Linked DNA regions of Homo sapiens: region 2 is linked to region 1. The links are contacts of gene promoters, found by promoter capture Hi-C in blood cells and fetal thymus (Javierre and others, 2016). All regions are on one chromosome and are shown on one strand. Each heading gives the region's core, a stretch centred on a gene start or on the middle of the fragment in contact. The rest is flanking DNA. Distances are from core to core; before and after follow the strand shown. Region 1 holds the start of FRMD4A-AS3 (FRMD4A antisense RNA 3). Region 2 overlaps FRMD4A (FERM domain containing 4A).

Evidence for each region. Contacts are between HindIII fragments. The CHiCAGO score rates a contact against its expected background, and 5 or more counts as called.
Region 2: a contact is called between a fragment that was not itself captured here and the fragment with the promoter of FRMD4A-AS3 in region 1, in 2 of 17 cell types (endothelial precursors and activated CD4 T cells). The highest score is 5.1, in endothelial precursors.

What each region holds. Positions count from the first base shown.
Region 1 is chr10:14,071,724-14,076,210 of GRCh38, forward strand. It overlaps FRMD4A-AS3 (FRMD4A antisense RNA 3), which reads left to right and starts at 2,561. Exons shown (of 3, transcript NR_120638.1): 1 at 2,561-3,103. The region is part of intron 2 of FRMD4A (FERM domain containing 4A); the gene reads right to left. The HindIII fragment of the contact is 2,533 bases long and covers 1,611-4,143 here.
Region 2 is chr10:13,847,810-13,852,296 of GRCh38, forward strand. The region is part of intron 3 of FRMD4A (FERM domain containing 4A); the gene reads right to left. Among named protein-coding and RNA genes, the nearest start is that of FRMD4A-AS2, 140 kb to the right of the region's middle. The HindIII fragment of the contact is 2,698 bases long and covers 952-3,649 here.

The DNA of each region.
Region 1 (4,487 bases), core at 1,311-3,810:
CTGATGGGGCAGAGAGGACCAGGTATGTGTGCAGAAAGATACGCACTTAGTGGGATCTTCTCCAAGTAAGTGTTGAATGTAGAAGAATTAGACTTGATGAGAACACTGGGTGAGGGTGGACTCTTAGGTGGATCCTTGGATGAAGTAGGAGCCTGCAGCTGAAAGGGTGAAAGAAGGAGGTGGTAGGAAGGGTTTCCTTCCCCGTGTTGCAAGGCTGCTTCTCTTAATTCTGTGACTTTACTACAAAGCACAGAGGACTGTGACCAACATTTAATAAGCCTTCAATAAATGTTGATATTGATACCTAAAATTCCACCTATTAGACATTGATTTATGTTAACAACTTCCTTCTTAAAGTAAAAATTCTCTTGGGAAGGCCCAAGTCAATTGACCATTCATTCTTTATGATGAATGTTTAATAAGACTGCTTTCTTCTGGATATCTAGTTGAGATCAGCTGAACAACGAGAGTTTTATGGCTAAATGGATATGAAGACACGAGGCAATTTAGGGTCACGGAGATGCTCGGCTGAGTTCAGGCACAAATGGGGCCTTGAGAAGTCAGAAGTTCTTACTTCTCTAGATAATATCCTCAAAAAGCCAAGTGAAGATATTAAGAAGAAAAAGCCAAAAATAACAACCGTGGCTATACCATTTTGGGAACAGAGTTGGATTCACATATCCTCCGTCCTTCTACTTTATAAACATTATTTGGAAAATTAAAAGTCGAAAATATTATAAGATTAAAATTCTGTGAGTTGGAGTCAACTTGTCTTCTAAAGCCTAACGCTTTCTGAGCCTCAGTTAAGTTACCACAAGAAGCAAGCCACCAAATTTGCCATCCAGAACTGTGATGCATGCTCTCATTTCCAGCAAGATGTAAAGCAGGGTTTTCATAACTGTTGAAGCTGCATCACAACCATCTCCACAAAGGACCATTTATCAGTTATTTTGGGAAAGGGGAGGGTTTTTTTAGAAGAGAAGAAACCACGCTAATAAGCTTTTTGTCTGCAATCATTTCCCACTGAGATTCCATATCAGTACATCTCCATTTGCTACATATTTAGCTTTAAAGGAAAATGAGGTGAGATGGAGATATTTGAGTCATAAAAGCAATAAAACGTGCTTCCGGAAAATAGCTTTCCTTTCAGTCCCCAGACCTGCACTTCCCAGATATAAAGTTTGTTTCTTTAACAAAAGTCTTGGTCAAGTATAGCCAGGCATACTGATTATCAGAGAAATATATACATATGTTTATAATTCATATGAAAGGAAAGAGAGAAAGAGCCAAAAAGAAGGGATAAAAAAATAATAGCTTTAGAAATAGAGAAAAGAAACAAAAACAAGACATACACTACGAGAACCCCTTGTAACCTGCACCCTTACCAGCTGTCCAGGAAACCCAGGGTACCTCCATCTCTCAGCTCAGAGGTTGGTGACAGGTGGTGTCTTTTATTCATATGCCCTCCCTGGGGCTCTTAATAATTGGTGTATTTCTTGTAGTCCCTTTAGTAGGCTGGGGGCAGTAGTGGGAGTGAGGGCGAGTTGGATGCTGGCTTGTTAATGGAGCTGAAGGGAGGGCTACAAGGTGACAGATGGGATGAAGCTGGAAGCTTCTTTGGTGGGAAGGGAGGGTGTTCTAGGTCATGAAGAATTAGATCCATTGAGTTGCTGCAAGAAATGTCCCATTCCTTGAGTTCCTAGGTGATTGACTTAATCTGCCCATCAGTCTTTGTGTGGTTGGTTTTGTGGTTGTGTGGATAAATCTAGACACCAAGGACCCTGGATATACCCTCCCAAAGCAAAATAACACTGGGGGCTGGGGTCACTTATTACTTGGCTGGTGTCCATGATGGGAAAGATCTCAGGGATGATGGCTGATGTTGTTGGCATTGTCTTTGCTTGTCCAAGGGCTGCTGTAGAAGAAGCGAACGGAGTGAGGGGAAGTCCAGGGGTATGAATGTGTCGTGTTCATGGGTTTTTCACCACCACCGGGATCCTGTTGTGACCTACCCACTGGTCAAGATGAAATCCCTAATAACTTAGGTGTTAAAAGACTGGAGGTTGCCCTGTATAAATTGGGTCACCAAAAGTTCCTTTTAAATTTTGCATAGGGCGGTGGCTCATGTCTGTAATCCCAGCACTTTGGAAGGCTGAGGTGGGAGGATCACTTGAGGGCAGGAGTTCAAGACTAGACTGGGCAACATAGTGAAACTCTGGTTCTACTAAAATACAAAATTTAGCCAGGCATGGTGGTGTGTGCCTGTAATCCCAGCTACTCGGGAGGCTGAGGCAGGAGAATTGCTTGAAACCTGGAGGCAGAGGCTGAACAGAGCTGAGATCGTGCCCCTGCACTCCAGCCTGGATGACAGAGCAAGATAGTCTCAAAAAAAATTTTTTTTGTTTCATATGTAGTACCATAGCACCAAGAAAGTGCTTAGGTGGTAAGTACAAAGGTGGCCAAGGTGAGTTCTGACAGTACAGAATGGGGTTTCCATGGAGACGGCAAATAATGAAGCAGTGGATGGGGGAGGGGGATGTATGCTCCAAGGTTGTGCCCACTCGGCACGACCCAGGTTCCATGCTACAGGCCTCTACTTGTCCAGACCTGAGGGTCAGATTCAGATGGTGCAAATGTTTAAGACCTGGGTCTTCAACGAGATGAATTATCAGCTATTTCATAGCTGCAGTGTTGGATATGCCGAGACGATAAAAGCAACAGCAATCAGAATCAACAGTTGAAACGACATGGCAGACGCTGTGAATGCTATGAACTGCTGTGCTGAGCAGCAGGATTCCTGTGTCCTGGCGCAATGCCCATGGGGATTCATGCTTTCAGAGGGTCACGCCTCAGGAACACGTAGAAGGGCAAGCATTTCATCTGGCAGGGCACTGATTTAATCTGCACGCATGTTTGGCTGTAAAACTAGCTCCTCCCCCTTACCATTTTTGAGTCGCTGCCGGACTCAAATTCCACAGATTCTGGAAGGTGTCCAGGAACTCGTTGATTTGTCAAACTTATGGCTACACACAGCTGGAATGGAGACGGACTCCACTGAGGAGACTCATACAGGACAGGAGGGAATTTTAAGAGGATAACCCTGGTAAGCCATGGTGGATTGGGTGATGGGAGGCTGTGTAAGAAAAGCTCTCTGACCTTGACTTCCAGGAATTTACTCTTAGATGGTTTAATCTAGATACTACCAGAGCTTGTAATACAGAAAATCCTGCAGGTAGGGAGAAGAGATTACCCAGAATTAGTTGACAGTCTATGTTTCATAGAGTAGAATCAAAGAAAGATGTCCTTATGAATTAAAAAAGCAAGCAAACTATGGTAACTTGAACCAGTTTCCAGTGCTAACGTAGCACTGCCAAGAAAAGACACTGTAAGGTCACCACTGGTCACTAGATACAGCTTGTTTTAAGTTACAATCACATTTACATAAAAACAATAAATGGTCTACATCACCTTGAAAAATGGTTTTTCCTTCCAGTTGTAAGCACTTTATGTCCTGGTGAAATGCTGCTCATCTGATTATTTTACTATATTGAGAAGAGGAAAGGGGAGGACATATTATTTTCTTAACACCTAATGGATCCAGACACATGTTAAATGCTTGACCTCCACAACCATGTTTAACTGTTAGAACAACATGATGTGTGTGTGGTTTATTATTTCTATTTTCCAAATCAGGAGACCAAGGTCTATAGAGATTACGTAGCCTTCCTGGGCACTAGGAACAGGGACAGAACTGGAACCTGTGCCTATCTCTTTCTGTCGTTGCTCCTTCCAACATATCATGTTGCTTCTCAAAACCAACAGTGAAAAAGTATTCTTTAGCCTAACCTGAGCTGAAATGGCTTAGATATGAAAGCGTAAAGTTTCACTGGCTGTGCATGATGCAAATTTCTTAAATATAGGCAAATATAAGCATGTGTGGGTATAATTTCTGTATTATGTGTATACCTTTATATCCATATGCTGTATAGTATGTGTGTATACATATAGTGTGTGTGTATATTTTATATTTATACACACACATATGTATATGCACACACACACACATATATATAAACCATTAATCTAGGAATCAACAAACCACATCTGATGATATTTCTGCATTGTCATAAAGCCGGAGAGAGAAGCTTCCCCCAGTTACAGGAAGAGATTGTGTGATTGTGTCTGTGCTTGCTTTTTCCTAATGTCTGCATGTTGGACAGAACTTGGCCTAACTCTCATGTTCATGGTAATGTAGCATCTATTTTGAACCACAGGAGGATGGAACATTGACCAGAAGAACCTGACCTTAGTTGATGGCAACTCTGTTTTATTTCCGCTGCTCACCTGGGCCTCTGAATAACCGGGTTTCATTACTACAAGGCTGGCTCACTATGCACCCCTTCACCTGTTCATTTGCCCAGTGTGTGTCTAACCCAGCCATCCACAGCTATGTCATGAAGACCTGTGCATGGATCCCCACCTGCCTT
Region 2 (4,487 bases), core at 1,051-3,550, 220 kb before region 1:
CAAATAAACGGATGCTTAGATCTGCATAGCACAGCGGTAGACAAATAATAAATATTTACCAAACAAGCAAGAACTTGAATTAAGCAATGTGCCCAAAATCAAACTGTGAGTTATGGATTAATAAAAACGATGACAGCCACAGATTTGTTACCCCTTGGGTCCCTGTGACCCCATCCTTATGCTCTACATAGAGGTGTGTGCACACGTGTGTGCCTTTCCCCTGTAAATACAGTCGTTTGCATTTTGCAGAACTGCATTGTGAGTTGAGTTTGTTTTAATCTCCCCAATCCCTTCTTATCCCCCATTAGCAGAAAGACAGAAACTAGGAGCATGTAGTTTAATGTCCTATCCTGAGGCTCCCATCTGCACAGAGTCTCCTATGGGGCACCATAGAGAGGACATGGAAAGGATTTTGTGAAGATATCACGGAAAAAATAACTCAGTAGTAAAAGAAACAACCACCTGCAATGTTCTGGAGGGCTAAGTCTTCTCTCCCTTTTTTTCTCTCTCCCTTTACGTTTGAGCCACATGAAATTGTCCCCTTAGCAGGACAAAGTCTGCCAAATATTGGCAATTTCAAATGGTTTCAATGAATACATTTTACAACAGGTTAAAATTGGCATCAAAGGGACAAGGAGCACAGACATGGAGGTGGTCCAGGAAGAAGGGGGAGGGGGGCAGGGGCGCAAAGAAGGGGTGTTGCCAGGCAACTGGCAGCGTGGACCCATTAGGCTGGGGAGATGGGGATGGTCTCTTCTCCTCTCCTCAACCAGCACCTGGGTGTGAGTGTGTGTGTGTACGTGTGTGTGTGTGTGTGTGTGTGTGTGTGTAAACGCGGCAGGGGGTTCCCTAGATGATCGCATCAATCTGCTGTATCCTGATGCTCAGCCCTCTCTCACAGCCTCTTGGGGAGACTGGAATTCCCCTTTGTTCTAACCAGGGCAGAAAGAAAGCTTACCGACTTTTCTACAAAGGCCTTGGCTGAAGAAGGAAGATGGATCGTGTCTCCTCCCTCCTTACCAAGGGGGAAACGACTTAGCTGCTTGTGCTCCCCAAGAGTATGTTTTATGGACTATTTCTTATTCCTCTCCATCACTCAATGCGTTTTTTATTACAAATAGATTTACCATTGCGTTATCTGTCTGTGCTCTATATCTTACCATGTCTTTCTTCACCATGTGCTTTTCAAATGTTAAATATTATCAGCCACCCCTGGGGGCTGGGAAGACATCTGTTTTGCTCATTTGGTGGAGTGCCCAGCTTTGCAGAGAGGAGCCTAATAAATGATGATGGGATCGCAGTGAGGTGTGAGGTCAGCCCAAAGTGGGGCTGCCTGAACCCCTTTGGCTCTTGTTTCAGGAGGTGGCCTGGTGGCCTGGGAGGTCCCGGACAGAAGGTTCATAACACTGAGTCCCTCTGTCTGCTCCCAGCTTCTGCACACGCCTTCCCAGCCCTTGGCTGTGACAGAAACTCCTGGTGGATTCAGACCAGACAGGAGCAGATGGCAGACCTGGAGCACGCCTCGGTAGATGGCCCAGCAGGCAGACCACAATGAGCCCACCTGCCCACACTACTCAGTTGGGAAGACACGGAATCAACTCCATATTCTCTGCTTGGCAACATGCACTTTGGGGGGGATTCCTGCTTTACTTGGTAGAAAACAATCTCCTGCATTTTTTTTTTTTTTTTGATACGGAGTTCGCTCTTGTTGCCCAGGCTAGAGTGCAATGGTGCGATCTTGGCTCACTGCAACCTCCATCTCCCACGTTCAAGGGATTCTCCTGCCTCAGCCTCCCGAGTAGCTGGGATACAGGCATGCACCACCATGCCCGGCTAATTTTGTATTTTTAGTAGAGACGGGCTTTCACCATGTTGGTCAGGCTGGTCTCAAAGTCCCGACCTCAGGTGACCCACCCGCCTCGGCCTCCCAAAGTGTTGGGATTACAGGTGTGAGCCACAGCACCTGGCCATCTCTTGCATTTTTGCAGAATATCATTAACCACAGAAGTTGCTAAGGCTGGGCTATGAGGGTGAATATAAACATGGGTGTGCACCTGTGCATAGAGAATCCAAGTTTAGGCCGGGCGCAGTGGCTCATACCTGTAATCCCAGCATTTGGGAGGCCGAGGTGGGTGGATCACCTGAGATCAGGAGTTCGAGACCAGCCTGGCCAACATGGTGAAATCCCGCCTCTACTAAAAATAAAAAAATAAGCTGTGGGTGGTGGCAGGTGCCTGTAATCCCAGCTACTTGGGAGGCTGAGGCAGGAGAAGCACTTGAACCCAGGAGGCTGAGGCAGGAGAATTGCTTGAACCCAGGAGGTGGAGGTTGCAATAAGCCAGTAAGCCGAGATTACACCACTGCACCCCAGCCTGGGTGACAGAGTGAGGCTCCATCTCAAAAAAAAAGAGAACCAAGTTTATTCACCTATTTTAGGTAAGATTATTACAGTTCTAGATTTTTAAAAAGTCATACATTTTTTTTTCTAGCCCATAATAGCCCAGACTATTTACTTGCCCTCAGTGCTATTTTACTGACAGCCCATATTAATGTACTCGACCTTTAAGATGGGATATCACCAGCATCGCTGTCAGACAGAGGAAAGTGACAGGAAGGCGACCATTATTTCATCCACTGCTGTGGAAGTGTCTTCCACACCTGCTAGCCCGAGACTTACGCAGGACGCACAAGTCCTTCATGAGGATGTGTCACATGTTTCAGGCTTTCCCAGATAGGTTAGGAAGTGAGTTCACAGGAATGAAATGACCTGGGTAAGCCCATCTTCCATTGCAGACCTGAGATAAGGTTCGAAGTCTTTGGTTGCCATCGTTTATGGCTCTGGTGTCAGGGGCTGGCAGAGGAGCATATTCCAGGTGAACTATTAATAGATCATATCTTGTGAATCTTGGGTTTTTATTATATATACTGGTTATGGTGCAGTGAAAAGAGAATGGGCTATACTATCAGAGGACCTATGCTCGAGCTACCTATACTTCACTAGCTACGTGACCTTGAGCAAGTTATTTAATCTTTCTGAATTTCTGTTTGCTTGGCACCTACTTTACACAGTTACTGTGAGGATTAAATAAGATATGCTCCATATAAATTCTATAAAGAATTGTAGGCCAGGTGTAGTGGCTCATGCCTGTAATCCCAGCACTTTGGGAGGCCAAGGCGGGTGGATCACCTGAGATCAGGAGTTTCAGAGAAGCCTGGCCAACACAGTGAAATCCCGTCTTTACAAACACACAAAAATTAGCCGGGCATGATGGCGGGTGCCTGTAATCCCAGCAACTCTGGAGGCTGAGGTGGGAAAATCACTTGAACCCGGGAGGCAGAGGTTGCCGTGAGCAGAGATCACGTCACTGCACTCCAGCCTGGGCGACAGAGTGAGACTTCGTCTCAAAACAAAACAAAAAAAGAAAAAGAAAAAGAAAAAGAATTGTAAAATGTAGTCATTATTGTGCCAAACATCCAGTATTATATCTGGGTAACCCCAAACAATTCGATTGCCTTCATAATATTTTCTCTAGCTTAAATTGTTTTCTATCTTCTATAGCAGGAATCCCCAACCCCTGGGCCATGGACTGGTACCAGTCTATGGCCTGTTAGGAATGGGGCTGCACAGCAGGAGATGAGCAGCGAGAGAAGCTTCACCTATACTTATAGCCTCTCCCCATTGCTTGCATTACTGCCTGAGCCCCACCTCCTGTCAGATCAGCAGCAGCATTAGATTCTCGCAGGAGTCCAAACCCTACGGTGAACTATACACGTGAGGGATCTAGTTTGCACACTCCTTATAAGAATCTAGGCCAGGCGTGGTGGCTCACACCTGTAATCCCAGCATTTTGGGAGGCCGAGGCGGGTGGATCATGAGGTCAGGAGATTGAGACTGTCCTGGCCAACATGGTGAAACCCTGTCTCTACTAAAAATACAAAAATTAGTTGGGTGTGGTGGCGCCTGCCTGTAATCCCAGCCACTCAGGAGGCTGAGGCAGGAGAATCGCTTGAACTCAGGAGGCGAAGGTTACAGTGAGCTGAGATTGCACCACTTCACTCCAGCCTGGTGACAAAGCAAGACTCTGTCTCAAAAATTAAAAAAAAAAAAAAGATTCTAATGCCTGATGCCCATCACTCACATGTGGGACCATCTAGTTGCAGGAAAACAAGCTCAGGGCTCCCACTGATTTGACATTATGGTGAGCTGTAGAATTATTTCATTATATGTTACAATGTAGTAATCATGGAAATAAAGTGCACAATAAATGTAATATGCTTGAATCATCCTGAAACCATACCTCCCACACCCCATCTGTGGAAAAATTGTCTTTCATGAAACCAGTCCCTGGTGCCAAAAGGTTTGGGCCTACTGCTCTAGAAATAGCCATCCAAAAGAAATACAACGTGAGCCACAAAAGTTAGCCCAATATAAGATTTTAATTTTTTTTTTTTTGAGATGGAGTCTTGCTCTGTTGCTGGGCTGGAGT